Linked DNA regions of Homo sapiens: regions 1 and 3 are each linked to region 2. The links are contacts of gene promoters, found by promoter capture Hi-C in human tissues and cell types (Jung and others, 2019). All regions are on one chromosome and are shown on one strand. Each heading gives the region's core, a stretch centred on a gene start or on the middle of the fragment in contact. The rest is flanking DNA. Distances are from core to core; before and after follow the strand shown. Region 1 overlaps STAU1 (staufen double-stranded RNA binding protein 1). Region 2 holds the start of SLC9A8 (solute carrier family 9 member A8). Region 3 overlaps ZNFX1 (zinc finger NFX1-type containing 1).

Region 1 (4,987 bases), core at 259-2,758, 660 kb before region 2:
AAATCATTACTCCCTCCACAATCTAGAGGTACTGGTTTATGTAAAAGATCAGACACGTTTTCTCCTGTATTTTACAAAAAAAAAAAAAAAAAAACACATACCTCGGGGGATAAGCACCTCCTCTCATGTTGTAGTTATAGGTGGACTGCATCCGAGAGTAAGGGTCAACAGGCTTATACATTGGTTTTTTTCCAAGTTTCATGCACAGTGCATTTAGTTCTACAGTAGGGGTTATGCTTTCTGCAAGAAAGAATCGACAAAGAACTGTTTTTTTCTGGTATGAGAATGATACTCACTAAAATAAAATGTAATAGCATGCTTTCTGCTAATTGGATTCATGATACTTTACATAAAAGGACCTGGGTGGCTCACTGCTAGGCATCAGACAAGGAAATCCAAGAATATGCTGTGATTTCTAGATATTTATACACAGTCGACAGCACAAAATCTACTCTGAGGGTTACCAGAGGAGCCACAATTTAACCCAAGACATTATCAGTGAAAGCTATATGGTACAGCTGTCAGAAATAAGTTCCAAAACACATCAAATTTCACGATTAAAAAATCCCATGTAAATGTCCAAATTGTTTTACTGTTTGAGAATACTTAATCAATATAACCTTGGTTGTACTGATTTACAGGATTATTGGCTTGCACTCAGAAGTATGTCCGTACACAGTATTGAACGATGCATTTATTACATTACTAACTGGATGCAAAGCACTGTGCTAAGCTTAAGAAACACAATTCCTGGCCAGGCGTGGTGGCTCACGCCTGTAATCCCAGCACTTTGGGAGGCCAAGGCAGGAGGATCACAAGGTCAGGGTATCGAGACCATCTTGGCTAACATGGTGAAACCCTATCTCTACTAAAAAATACAAAAAATTAGCCAGGCATGGTGGCGGGTGCCTGCAGTCCCAGCTACTCAGGAGGCTGAGGCAGAAGAATGGTGTGAACCTGGGAGGCGGACCTTGCAGTGAGGGTGGCTCACACCTGTAATCCCAGCACTTTGGAAGGCCGAGGCGGGTGGATCACCTGAGGTCAGGAGTTCGAGACCAGCCTGGCTAACACGGTGAAACCCCGTTTCTACTAAAAATACAAAAAATTAGCCAGGCATGGTGGCGCATGCCTGTAATCCCATCTACTCAGGAGGCTGAGGCAGGAGAATCGCCTGAACCCAGGAAGCAGAGGTTGCAGTGAGTCGAGATTGCGTCACTGTACTCCAGATGAGGAAACAAGAGCAAAACTCTGTCTTAAAAAAAAAAAAGAAACACAATTCCTGCCCCAGAGGAGTTCAAAAAACACAAAGCACACTCAAAGAGTTACAATACAACATGATGTGCAACTTAAAGGTGAAAAATCAGTGAGGAGGTGGCAACCCAATTCTCTTCACAGAAGTCACACAAGGCCCACAAAATATTCAGGTATTTCCATTCTTGACATTTCTAATGAATTTGACCTGTGGTCATACTTGCTACGAAAATGAGTTCCATTTTCATACACAACAAGTTATCTCAAAATTATCAACTTCAGAAAATACATGCTATTCATTTTCCAATTTTTTTTTCTTTCAGTTCATCCAATCCATAAACCTTTAAAAACCATTTAAAAAGAAAACCAGCCTGGAAAGATTAGTGTCAGTGCACAATATTTAAAAACAACACTTTCATATCAAAAACAGAACACTAGAAATGGCAAAATCTAAATGCACATAAAAATCCACTTTAAAATGCCTCTTTAGGATGTATATAGAGAGAAATAAAAAAGACCTGATTCTGTACTATAACTGGTTCAACTAAATTTAATGCATGAATCAAATCTATAAGAATATCTTTGGGGTTTGCACAGAGGGCCACATGAATTACAGATCTCTCTCTTCCTTGCATTAGAATTATATTTTTTACAAAATTCATATAATTGCATTTTAAGTACAGTCTGAATCATTTTAAGAGCAGCTCTGATCCACAGAATTTGTCTGCAATAGAGAATAAACATGAAGAAAGTATACTGCAAAGAAATCAAAAGTAACAAGAAAGATGTGACTGGTAACTTCCCAGATTCCTTCCTACATACGAAGACCTGGGATGACTTCATGCATGTGAGGGGGTCTCTGCTAAAACAGCCATTAATGACACAGCCTCCAGGTCACTGATCCCCAACCCTTCACCAGCCATGCCTTCTTGATTAGTATGCTCCCTGAATGGGCTCCTTGTCTGAGGAGATACTACCTGCTGGCTTGTATTTAAGTAATATTTACATTTTTCTCATTCTTTTTAATAACTAAGAGACATACAACTGGCAATAAGCACTTCTGACCAACAAAATTACAATCAATATTACCACACTGACTTGATGTGACTCTAAATTAAACTTATATTCTTGCTAATCTATACACTCTTATCAAAAATATATTTTCATTAAACTTCGGAAATCTTTGAAATTATCTGGTCACCCGCCATCCTTCCTATGACCGCCTTTCCAGATTGTCAGGCGTTAAGGCATCATAGATTGGAAACCACTGCTTTACAATGAGGTTAAGGATTCCTAAAAAATAAGCATTTGTCACTGGTAGTGTAGAATCTGTGCTTTCAAAATCAACAAGTTAAGAAACCATTCATATACATACTACATGGTACCTCTAGACACACTTTTGAAAGGTACCTGTTTGGCCCATGCATAAGACCTGGATTCCTTCCTTCGCTACCAAAAGGGCTGACTATGGGCTTAGGAAATTTTGTTCCCTCCAAAGCTTTAGCAGCAGCTGTGTGTTTGACCTTTTTAATACCAGTTCACTCAGCTCCCCATTGCTGATTTCCAAGTGTCAGCAGTACTGTAAATTCCTAGAAATGAAAAGTGTGAGCTCTCAAATTCATGAAACCTGACATTGACTGTAATATGTCACTTGAACCTTGAACACTTTCTATGGTCATGGTTTAAGAGGCCTGGTCTTATCTTGATAATTCATCCTGTCATCCCCTTCTTATCCTTTTTTGTTGTTTTTTATAAACAACAACAAAAAAAAGAGATTGTGTGTGTATGCACTGAAATTTTTTTTTTTTTTTAAGAGACACAGTCTCACTCTGTCCCCAGGTTAGAGTGCAGTGGTGTGATCTTGGCTCAATGCAACCTCCACCTCCTGGGTTCAAGAAATTCTCCTGCCTCAGTCTCCCGAGTAGCTGGGATTACAGGCACCTGCCACCATGCCCGGCTAATTTCTGTACTTTTAGTAGAGACAGGGTTTCACCATGTTGGCCAGGCTGGTCTCGAACTCCTGACCTCAAGTGATCCACCTGCCTCAGTCTCCCAAAGTGCTGGGATTACAGGCATGACCCACCACGTCCAGCCTCAAAATTCTCTTCCAATTACTTCTCATGAAAGATATTTTGCAAACTTGATTTAAACACACAGCAGTACTTCACACAAATTAAGACAATGTTTGTTTTGATGCTGCAATGTGTTTGTGGGCTCTTGTTTGAAAACATAACCACCCTTTTTTTCAGTTTTTGAAATGGGGTCTTGCTCTGCTGTCCAGGCTGGAGCTCAAATGGCACAATCATAGCTCACTGCAGCCTCCTGGGTTGAAATAATCCTCCCACCTCAACCTCCTGAGTAGCTGGGACTACAGGCACACACCACCATACTTGGCTAATTTTTTTTTTTTATTTTTTTGAGACAGTCTTGCTCTGTCGCCAGGCTGGAGTGTAGTGGCATGATCTCAGCTCACTGCAACCTCCGCCTCCCAGGTTCAAGCGATTCTCCTGCCTCAGCCTCCTGAGTAGCTGGGACTACAGGCATGCACCACCACGCCCAGCTAATTTTTGAATTTTTAGTAGGGATGGGGTTTCACCATGTTGGCCAGGATGGTCTTGGTCTCTTGACCTTGTGAACTGCCCGCCTTGGACTCTCAAAGTGCTGGGATTACAGGCGTGAGCCACCATGCCCGGCCCATACCTGGGTAATTTTTTAATTTTTGCGGAGGCAGGGTCTCCCTATGTTGCCTAGGCTGGTCTTAAACTCCTGGGCTCCAGTGATCCTCTCGCCTCAGCCTTCCAAAGTGATAGGATTTAAGGCATGAGCGTTTCTATTTTTATTAAGTTCTCAAAGTAATTCTGATGCACCCCAAAGATTTGAGATTCACTACTTTGGAATTTAACAAATCAATTGAAGCGGCCGGGTGTGGTGGCTCACAACTGTAATCCCAGCACTTTGGGAGGCAGAGGCGGGCAGATCACCTGAGGTCAGGAGTTCAAGACCCGCCTGGCCAACATGGTGAGACCCTGCCTCTACTAAAAATACAAAAATTAGCCACGTGTGGTAGTACGTGTCTGTAATCCCAGCTACTCAGGAGGCTGAGGCAAGAGAATCACTTGAACCCGGGAGGTTGCGGTTGCAGTGAGCCGAGAACACGCTATGGCACTCCAGCCTGGGTGATGACAGAGTAAAACTCCGTCTCAAAAAAAGAAAAAATTAATTGAAGCTTTTATTCTTCTGATGTAATCACTGAATATCACTTTATCTCACTTACAAATAATTTACAAGGGAAACCTGGATTTCAGTATGTCTAGGTCATTTAAATTTGGTGCCTTAAGGGGTGAGGCAACTTGCCTTCATAGCTGATTTTTCTTGTAGGTCTTACTTTTAGGATTCCCTCAGTGCACGGCTTCCACTAAAGGAAAAAAACAAAGAATCCTTTATTGGCCAGGTGCAGTGGCTCATGCCTGTAATCCTAGCACTTTGGGAGGCCAAGGCAGGCAGATCACTTGAGGTCAGGAGTTCGAGACCAGCCTGGCCTACATAGTGAAACCCCATCTCTACTAAAAATGCAAAAATTAGCCAGGCGTGGTGGCATGCACCTGTAATTCCAGCTACTTGGGTAGCTGAGGCAGGAGAATCACTTGAACCCGGGAGGCAGAGGTTGCAGTGAGCCAAGATTGCACCACTGCACTCCAGTATGGGCAACAGAGACTCCATTTCAAAATAAAAAAAA
Region 2 (4,923 bases), core at 2,077-4,576:
TTCCAGCTACTTGGGAGGCTGAAGCAGGAATCGCTTGAACCCAGGAGGCAGAGGTTGCAGTAAGCCGAGATCGTGCCACTGCACTCCAGCCTGAGTGACAGAGTGAGACTCCATCTTAAAATACAACAACAGGCCAGGCCTGGTGGCTCATGCCTGTAATCCCAGCACTTGGGGAGGCCAAGGCAGGCGGATCACGAGATCAAGAGATTGAGACCATGCTGGCCAACATGGTGAAACCCTATCTCCACTAAAAATACAAAAATTAGCAGGGCATGGTGGCACATACCTGTAGTCTCAGCTACTTGGGAGGCTGAGGCAGGAGAATTGCTTGAACCTGGGAGGTGCAGGTTGTAATGAGCCGAGATCGTGCCATTGCACTCCAGCCTGGGTGACAGACACTCCATCTCAAAAAAAAAAAAAAAAAAAAATCCAAAGAAGAATGGTATTTCATGACATGTGAAAGTAATGCAAAATTCAAATTTCAGTATCCATAAAGTTTTGTTGGAACACAGCTATGCCTATTTATATTATTTATGCTGCATGCAAACTACAGAGTTGATTTGTTGCTACAGAGATAGTAAGGCCCACAAAGCCTTCAGTATTTACTGTCTGACTCTTTACAGAGACTGGTCAGGGAGGGCTTCCCTGAGGAGGGGACATTTAAGCTGAGACATGAATAACAAGAAGACTGGAGATAGCGGGCAGAGCTGTCTAGGCAGAGACAATGGAGAGCAAAGGCAGTTTTCTCTCTAATCTTGTAACAGTCTTCTAAAGAGAAGCGTTATTAAAGAAAAAAAGAAAAAAAAATTGAGGGGGCCCTGAGGCTCTGAGGGTGCTGTAGCCTCTCAGGGTCACGGAGACTGTAGGTCCTGAGGAGGGGTTGGGAACCAGCACTGTCTGGCACCAGAATTTGTGGTGCCTTATGCTGCCTCCTTCTCGGCCTGACACAGCATTGGAGCCCAGAAACTGCATGTTGAATGGCTTTATTCACCTTCCTCGGGGAAGGACCAGGGATTTTAGATTCATTCTCAGGAATAGGTGAGAAGAGCCAAAGACTCACCCATGGGCATGAGAGAATGTTCTCTGCAGCCTCATGGTTAGTGGTAGGCCCAGAGGAGGCCAAGGGCAGTAGGCAAGACAACGGATAGAGAAGAGTAGTGAATTCCAGCTATGTGGAGTTTCCAGCTTGGCGAATTCCAGCCATGTGGGGTTTATTGGTGCTGGTAGAAAATGGTAGCCTCAAGCCCTCAGTTGACAAGTGTGGCCAGAGAGAACCCCACTCTCAATCCTTTGTAGACCAGGTCATTCCCGCCAGGCTCTGTGCTAACGGAGGAGAGTAGGTTATTAGTCCCATTTAAGAGCCAGAGAAATTAAGGCAGTGGAGAGTAGCAGGGCTACTGGTTTAAAAACACTGGCTCTGTGCCTGAATCCCAGCCTTGTCATTTGCTAGCTGTGGGACCGCAGGCAAGTGCCTTGATTTCTCTATGTCTGTGGATAATGATGGTATCTACCTCAAAGCTATGTAAAGAATTAAGGAAACAATAGCCCAACACCACACCTGCAGGAAGGAAGCAAGTTTATTATTACTCAATAAACATTGGTGGATCCTGATGACATTCTCTCAGTCAGCTTTAGCAGTCTTAAGAGACTGCAGAGGATGGAGAACCCAAGGTTAGAGCCAGATTTCTTCTCTACCCAGTTCCTCGGGGCCAAAACCCTGACACCATGCTTAACTCCTCTTTTATACGCCATAGTCCGTCAGCAAACCTTGTCTTCAGTATGCGTCCAGGAGTCCAACCATTCCTGCCACCTCCACCGTATTACTTTCATCCAGACTGCCATCAGCTGTCACCTAGATTATTGCAAAAGCCTCCTTGCTGGCTTTGGGGCTTCCATCCTCTCTCTCTCGCCAATCCCCAGTCAACTCCCAACAGGCAGCAAAGCTTAGGTTACTTCTCAGTTCAAAACCCTTCTAGGTGTGCTAGAATTAACTGATTTATTTACTCAATGATTATTTATTATTGAGTGTCTACTATGTGCCAGGTACTGTTGTAGGCATTGCAGATAAAATGGAGAACAAAACAGACAAAAATTTCTGCATTCATGAAGCTTCCGTTCTCATGGAGGGAGATGGTTAACAAACAAGTGTATGAGTAAAACATATGGTAGGTTAGGTGTCATGTGGAAAAATAGTTTAGGGAAGGCGGGGGGCCTTGGATTTTAAGTAGGGTGGTCAAGGAGGTCTAACACACAAGATAAGGGTTAAATAAAAGGCCAAACGTAGGAGAGGTGGGAGCCAAAGAGCTACCCAGAAGAAGAGCATTCTAGATAAAGGCTCAGTAAGTGCAACGGTGGAAGTATTCCTGGTGAGTCTGGGACAATAGTGGAAAGTCAAAGTGTGTGGGAGGGGAGATATAGAGCCCCATGCCCCCCTCCCACACACTTCAGAGGGGAAAAGGGGGCAGGATTGAGTCCTGTACATTCCCCACGTTTTTTTTTTCTCTGGAGATTGGAAGCCATTGGAGGGTCTAAGCAGAGGAGTGATGAGTTAAGCTGCTGTGTGGAAGTCCGTAAGGAACAGGGGTGAGTCAGAGACCCTGAATGGAGCCGTTGCAATTATCCAGATGAGATAGAGTGCCTTGGATCAGGAAGGGAGGTAGCAACAGAAGCGGCCAATAAAGTTCAAAGTCCTCAGCCCCAGTCCTCCCGATGGGGGTCTCACCTACCCCTCTCACCTCACCTTGTTCCTCCCTGCATCCCCACCCCACCGGTCACTGCTAGGCACATAGAAGCATCTACTAAGCATGTGGTGAATCAATGAACCCCTTAATGAATGGTCCACCCCTAGATCATCAGCATCCTTTTTAACGCTAGGCATATAGTCTGAACTCAACACATGTTTACAGATGGAATGCTGCACAGTCCTGCCAAGTCCAGGCGGTTATTCCTCTCCACAGCCGAAGGAAACTAAGGCTCGGGTGGGGAAGTGTCCCCCTGGGGTCTCTCCGCTTAGGCTGCAGGCTGGGCATCCTTTTTCAAACTCTTTTAGCACAGCGAAGTCGAGGGCACTGGGTGGAGGGTGCTTGCTTGCCCTCAGGGTGAGTCACAGTGACCTCAGAGGAGTTTCCCCAAAACGTCCCCGCCCTGTGATGGGGAAAAGCCGGAATCTCTCGGTCCCAGGTGGTCATGTGGCCCAGGCCGGACAAGCGTCCCGAAAGCCCCGGGAGAGACTAAGAAGCAATCCTCCCACGCGCTTTCTCCCACCCTCGGGCCACTGAGACGGAGGGACAGAGGGCCGCCCTCGCGCGGCCGAGGCCCCGCCTCCCGCTCGCCCGCCCGCGCCTCCAGCGGAAGCCGGAAGCAAAAGCGGGTCCTGCTAGCCCCGCGGCTCCGAACTCGGTGGTCCTGGAAGCTCCGCAGGATGGGGGAGAAGATGGCGGAAGAGGAGTGAGTGGGCTTTTTCCCGGGCGGCGGAGGCGGCGGGGCTGGGCCCCGGCGGGTGACAGCGAGCGCCTCAGGCCGCCCTCCGGCCCCGGAAGGCGGAGCTTCTTTTGCTGGTTGGCCAGGACTGACCAAGCCGGTGCCTACGAGGAGGGCGGGATGGGCGGGCCTGGGCCCAGGTGGGCCTTGCTTTCCCCTGGAGATCGGTCCCTCGAGCTGGGAATCTACTGCCCAGCGCAGGCCCGGAGAGCTGTCTTGCGGAAAATACAAACCATATTTACTTTCCCAGTTTTCGGTAATCTCATGGTTACTGAGCCCTCTTCCGCCTCCTCCAGGAAGTCGTCCGGGTTCTCCACACCCACCTCCTACGTAGCCAGTCGCCTCCTGTATAACGATCAGTTTTCATGTCTTTCTCCTTCACTAAGTTTCATTTAGTCATTAACTGTTAGCCATCTACTCAATTCCAGGCCCTGGGCAGGTGGTAGGAAAGGAGGCCGACCAGGAGCCGCTCTCTGGGAGCTTCCATTCTAGTGGGAAAAGAAGACCATAATTAGTCAAGGTGGTTTCAGATCGTGATTAATTAACGTTATTTGTGCCTAGTGTTCCATTATTGGAACGCTAAGCATGTGGGAGTTATTTATATCCTACTGCTCAAGGTCATCGCCAAGGTCTGATTTTTCTCACGTCTGCAGTTCTAAAAATTGCAACCTCTGGCATGAATGGGTTAAGTGTTCTGAAGGAAGCAAAATAGAGTTAAGGTTGGGGAGTCCACTCAGGAAAAAGTGACATTCAGCAGAAACTTGAATGACCAGAATGAGGGATAGGAGAAATAACATCAGGTTCAAAAGGCCTGGCTCAAGAAAGAGTTTAGTGCTTTTGAGTGACAGGCAGCATGGCTGGTGTGTAGAGAGGAAGGGGGTTAGCTGGACAAGGGGAGATGGGGAAGGACGGGCTGTGTCCTCCAGGTACTTTTGGGCAAGTCCAAAAGTCATCTCCATACCTGCAGGGCAGAGTCTGTTGCAGATTGTAGATGCCCTATCACTGTTTGTGGAATGAGTATGTGAAGATGAATAAGGAACCCCTTCATTGATACTGGAGTCCTTCACCTGATAACTTTTCAAATATATTTCTTGGCCATGTGGGGGTCATTTCATGTAATCAGTTATTTATTGAGCAGCTGCTCCATCCCAGACACTAAACAGCCTCAGCAGCACAAAATAAAAGAGGCAATATAGCCCAGCGATTTCAAGTTTGGGTTTTCAGCTTGATTCTGCCACTAACTGAGATGTTGGTGAAGTTTTGCAACCTCCCTGAGCCTTAGTTATGCATGAGTAAAAAACGGAAAGTAATCATACCCAATCAGACATGTTATACCTATTAAATGAGAGGTAGTGTGTTACCTAGTTCCTGGAATAAAGCAGTGCTCAGAAAATAATAACTTTTGTAGTCACAGTAACAGTTATTATAGCAATATTGTACTAG
Region 3 (4,984 bases), core at 1,779-4,278, 560 kb before region 2:
TGCAGGGCTCAGAGCAGAGTTTGGTGCACTGGTAGTGCTGGCAGCGCCAGACACAGGGTTCCACGCAGGGACTACACAGCTCCCCACATTTCTTCTTGCACTGGCTGTGGACACAGCGGTTCTGACAGGTCCGCTGGCAGGGTGGGCACTCACCAATGCATGGTTCCTGGCACTTGTGTGAGCAGATAAGCAGGCGCTTGCAGGGCTGCTGACAGCGTTCATGGAAACGCCCTTCGAAGCAGCTGTGGCAGGAGCCTGGGCAAGGATGCCCGCAGTCCAAGATAGTGCCACACTTTGTGGTACACTTGACTAGCAGACCACCATACAGGAGGCCTTCCACATGACCACATTTTACCGGTTGACTGTGCCCACACTTGAGTTTTATGGTGACCATTTCTGAACACAGCTGCACACAGTCCTCACCACATGGGTGGCTGCATCTGTGCCCACATCTCAGAGACTTGGAGCAAGGCTCCTGGCAGCAGAAATCTGACTCAGGCACGGAACAAGGGACCATTTGTTCATGGCCGCACCGAGGAATGGTTTTGGGCACCTTCACCTGACAAGGCTGACACTCCTGGAAGCAAACAAGGGGACACCGGTGCCCTTCCTGACAGATGACCTTCTGGCATGGCTTCATGCATTGGAACTCCTTGTGTGAAGAGTCATAAGGGTGGCAGGCACGGGTGCAGACATGCCCACAGCCCAGGCGGAACTCGCAGGGCAGGCTGCAGCCTCCTTCGGGTACTTTTTGGAAGTCAGAAGCTTTGGATACTAAGGTGTGGGTTTCAGGGTGGTTCTGGCAGCAGAGCCGGAGCATGGGGCCTATTTGATTGTTCTCTCGAAGTGTATGAATGATCTTGCTCCACAGGGGCACCTTGGCCAGCATCTGCATGTTTCCGATGCAGTACATTCCCTTCTTGGCTCGGGACAAGGCCACACAGATGCGGTTGGATATCTGCAGAAAACCCACCTTGCCTTCTTGGTTGCTCCGCACTAGCGAGAGGAGGATGATGTCATTCTCTTCCCCTTGGTATTTGTCCACAACATGGACCCTGACGCCAGCAAATGTCTTGGCAGGCATCAGTTTGCGCAGGCAGAAGAGCTGCCCGGTATAGGTAGTGAGGATGGTGATCTGGGAAGGCAGGTATTCCTGGCACAGGAAGTACTTGCACAGCTCTACCACAAAGTGAGCCTCATGCTGGTTCTGATGGCTTTTGCCCTCTTGGATTTCCTGTTCAGGAAAGTTGTGTTCTACAAAGAAAAGGTTGGAAGACACCCCCTGACAGGGAAAAGAAGTGACATGTTAAAAGGTTCACTCATGGCACTTGTTTTTTTCTTCCTCTCTTGACATGCACTGGCCACTTACTCTGCTCCAGAGAGAGACCTTGGAAAGCTTTTTGTCCACTCAACATCACTATCTTTAGTTCTTTAGTTAGTCATTGTGTGCTTCATTTTGGGGCCACAGCAAGTTATGAAAATAAAAGATTATGTCTCTTTCAGTTTTCAAGATACTTGTTTGATGTTAATATTTAAAAAAGCTGGCTGGGTACAGTGGCTCACGTCTGTAATCCCAGCACTTTGAGAGGCCGAGGTGGGTGGATCACCTGAGGTCAGGAGTTTGAGACCAGCCTGGCCCACATGGTGAAACCCCGTCTCTACTAAAAATACAAAAATTAGCTGGGCGTGGTAGTGGGCGCCTATAATCCCAGCTATTCAGGAGGCTGAGATGGGAGAATAGTTTGAACCCAGGATGCAGAGATTGCAGTGAGCCGAGATCATGCCACTGCACTCCAGCCTGGGTGACAGACAGAGTGAGACTCCATCTCAAAAAAAATAGAAAATAAAACAGCCATCCACAATCCAACCATTATAGCTGAAAGAACAAGCAGTGCTGTGAGGAGGATGATGATAATGACAGAGCAGCTAACTTACTGAGCACTCCACTGTGCTGACTGCTTTATATACATTACCTCCTTCCATACAGTAATGGGATATGGCAGGAGCCATTATTCTTATTGTCCAGAAGAACCTGATACTCAGAATTTATTTATTTATTTTAAAAAAAGAGACAGTCTTGCTATGTGCCCCAGCCTGGTTTTGAACTCTTGGCCTCAGCTGACAATTTTTTTTTTTTGAGACAGAGTTCACTCTTGTTGCGTAGGCTGAAGTACAGTGGCACGGTCTTGTTGGCTCACCACAACCTCCACTTCCCAGGTTCAAGCGATCCTCTCGCCTCAGCCTCCCAAGTAGCTGGGATTACAGGCGCCCACCACCATGCCCAGTTAATTTTTGTATTTTTAGTAGAGACGGGGTTTCACCATGTTGGCCAGGCTAGTCTCCAACTCCTGACCTCAGGTGATCCACCCATCTTGGCCTCCGAAAGTGCTGAGATTATAGGCATGAGCCACCACACCCAGCCAGGCACATGCCACCGCACCCAGCTAATTTTTGTATTTTTAGTAGAGATGGGATTTCACCATGTTGGCCAGGATGGTCTTGATCCCTTGACCTTGTGATTCGCCCGCCTCGGCCTCACAAAGCTCTGGGATTACAGGCGTAAGCCACCGCGCCTGGCCAGAATTCTTATATAACTTGCTTAAGGTTACATGGCTAACAGGCAGAATTGGGATTAAAAAACCCTGGTCTGTATTTCAATTTTCTCCCAGTAACCAGCTTTTAAAAAGCTGGCTCTACTCCCTTCTGAAGGCTTTCTTTTTTTTTTTGACAGGGAGTCTCTCTCCGCTGCCCAGCCTGGAGTGCAGTAGCATGGCACGATCTCAGCTCACTGCAACCTCCACCTCCTGGGTTCAAGCAATTCTCCCACCTCAGCCTTCTGAGTAGCTGGGATTACAGGTGCTTGCCACCATGCTCAGCTAGTTTTTGTATTTTAGTAGAGACAGGGTTTCACCATGTTAGTTAGGCTGGTCTCGAACTCTGACCTCAAGTGATCTGCCCACCTCAGCTTCCCAAAGTGCTGGGATTACAGGTGTGAGCCACCGCGCCTGGCCGCTGAAAAGCTTTTTTATCTTGAGGAAATTATAGCCTTTTTAGGTTGCTGACACCATCCAAGAAAGATCGGGTAAGACAGACTCACCTTAATCTTCTCATACTTAAGAACAGATGGATGATTCTCCAGATCCTGGTAAATGTGGGGGGTCAAAAGGCGGGCAATTTCAGGGCACATACGGTGCTGAAAAAACACATGCATGTCATTAGAAACATGGGCAGAGCACACACGGACAATTTCTTTAAAGATAAGGTTGCTGTTAGAAAATTTAGGGAGGGCCAGTTGTGATGGCTTGTATCTGTAATCCCATCACTTTGGGAAGCCAAGGCAGGAGGATCACTTCAGGTCAGGATTTCAAGACCAGCCTGGCAACATAGTGAGCCCTCATCTCTATTTTTCTTTCTTTTTTTTTTTTTTTTGAGACGTGTCACCAAGGCTGGGGTGCAGTGGCGCAATCTCAGCTCATTGCAACCTCTGCCTCCCAGGTTCTAGTGATTCTCCTGCCTCAGCCTTCCAAAAGTAGCTGGGACTACAGGCATGAGGCACCACGCCTGGCTAATTTTTTGTATTTTTAGCAGAGACAGTGTTTCGCCATGTTGGCGAGGCTGGTCACGAGCTCCTGAACTCAAGGGATCCGCCCGCCTTGGCCTCCCAAAGTGCTAGGATTAAGGTGTGAGCCACCACACCTGGCCTCTATTTTTCTTTTCTTTTTTTTTTTTCTGAGACAGAATCTAGCTCTATTGCCAGGCTGGAGTACAGTGGCATGATCTCGGCTCACTGCAACCACCGCCTCCCAGGTTCAAGCAATTCTCCTGCCTCAGCCTCCTGAGTAGCTGGGATTACAGGTGCCCACCACCATGCCCGGCTAATTTTTGCATTTTTAGTAGAGACAGGCTTTCACCATGTTGGCCAGGCTGGTCTCGAACTCCTGACCTCAGGTGATCTGCCCACCTTGGCCTCCCAAAGTGCTGGGATTGCAGGTGTGAGCCACCGCACCTGGCCTCTATTTTTCTTAAAAAAAAAAAGGAAAGAAAATCTAGAGAGATAGAGATTATCATTTGAAAAAAATAAGGAGAAAGCATAACATAAACAGCTCCTTTGTCCAACAAAAACTCAACACGGTGATCTTGTGGTGTTTTAAAACAGAAAATGTAAGGTTGACAGAGTCATTTCAGTATTAAATTATTTTTATTTATATGAGACCTCTTTTGCTGGCAACTGGCAGCTTCCCAGGAGCTTTCTCCTGGGCATTTGGTAACAACAGAGGCCCAGCTTCTCACCTGGTAATTCAGACGGACAAAGGGAATGTTTACTTTCACTAGCCGTTCAAAAAGGGACACCTCAAGGTTGAAGTTCTTGGCCAGATCATACACGTTGGCACTGGGGCGCAGCTGAGAAGAGAAACATGGCTGAGGATTCTCTACTGATAAAGTCATTTAACCATCCATACTTCCATCCATCCAACCAACCATCAAATGTTTTTCAAGTGTTGACTATGTGCCAGGCACTATTCTACATACTCACAGTTTAAGGATTAATAATGACAAGGGTTAAGGATTAGTAGAACTAAAGGTGATATGACAGAGTGCCCCATGGTGGGTTTTTTCTAGCTAGGCCTCTGAACAGTGACATCTGAGTAGACACTAGCATGGCAGAAGTTGCCAGTTCTTCAGTCATTTGAAAAGCAAGATCCATAATGGGGAGCGGAAAGGACACAGTGGGACACCAAGAGCAAATGGGATGAAGTCAGAGAAATAAGCTGAAACCTGATCACATAAGCCTTTGTGGGCCACTTTAAGAAGCTTGATTTTTATGCAAGTGCAATGGGACACCACTGGAGGGTTTTCAGCTGGAAAGTGATATTATCTATCTACCTTTTTTTTAAAAAAATTCACTTTGGCTCCTTTATGTAGAGTGCATTAAAAGGTAGCAAAAATGGAAGCAGAGAGACTGAGGAGCATGCTATTACAATAC

The links. Contacts are between HindIII fragments. The study calls those that stand out against the background at their distance.
Region 1: a contact is called between a fragment that was not itself captured here and the fragment with the promoter of SLC9A8 in region 2, in 1 of the 25 tissues and cell types used here (aorta).
Region 3: a contact is called between a fragment that was not itself captured here and the fragment with the promoter of SLC9A8 in region 2, in 3 of the 25 tissues and cell types used here (bladder, dorsolateral prefrontal cortex and heart right ventricle).

The regions. Positions count from the first base shown.
Region 1 is chr20:49,153,832-49,158,818 of GRCh38, forward strand. It overlaps STAU1 (staufen double-stranded RNA binding protein 1), which reads right to left. Exons shown (of 14, transcript NM_017453.4): 4 at 102-240. Among named protein-coding and RNA genes, the nearest start is that of STAU1, 32 kb to the right of the region's middle. The HindIII fragment of the contact is 4,210 bases long and covers 1-3,613 here.
Region 2 is chr20:49,809,502-49,814,424 of GRCh38, forward strand. It overlaps SLC9A8 (solute carrier family 9 member A8), which reads left to right and starts at 3,327. Exons shown (of 16, transcript NM_015266.3): 1 at 3,327-3,447. The coding sequence starts at 3,422. RefSeq lists an enhancer at 3,006-3,145 and a silencer at 3,296-3,575. The HindIII fragment of the contact is 14,619 bases long and covers 1-4,923 here.
Region 3 is chr20:49,248,430-49,253,413 of GRCh38, forward strand. ZNFX1 (zinc finger NFX1-type containing 1) reads right to left here. Exons shown (of 14, transcript NM_021035.3): 12 at 4,291-4,401; 13 at 3,098-3,193; 14 at 1-1,282. Among named protein-coding and RNA genes, the nearest start is that of ZNFX1, 27 kb to the right of the region's middle. The HindIII fragment of the contact is 3,897 bases long and covers 1,081-4,977 here.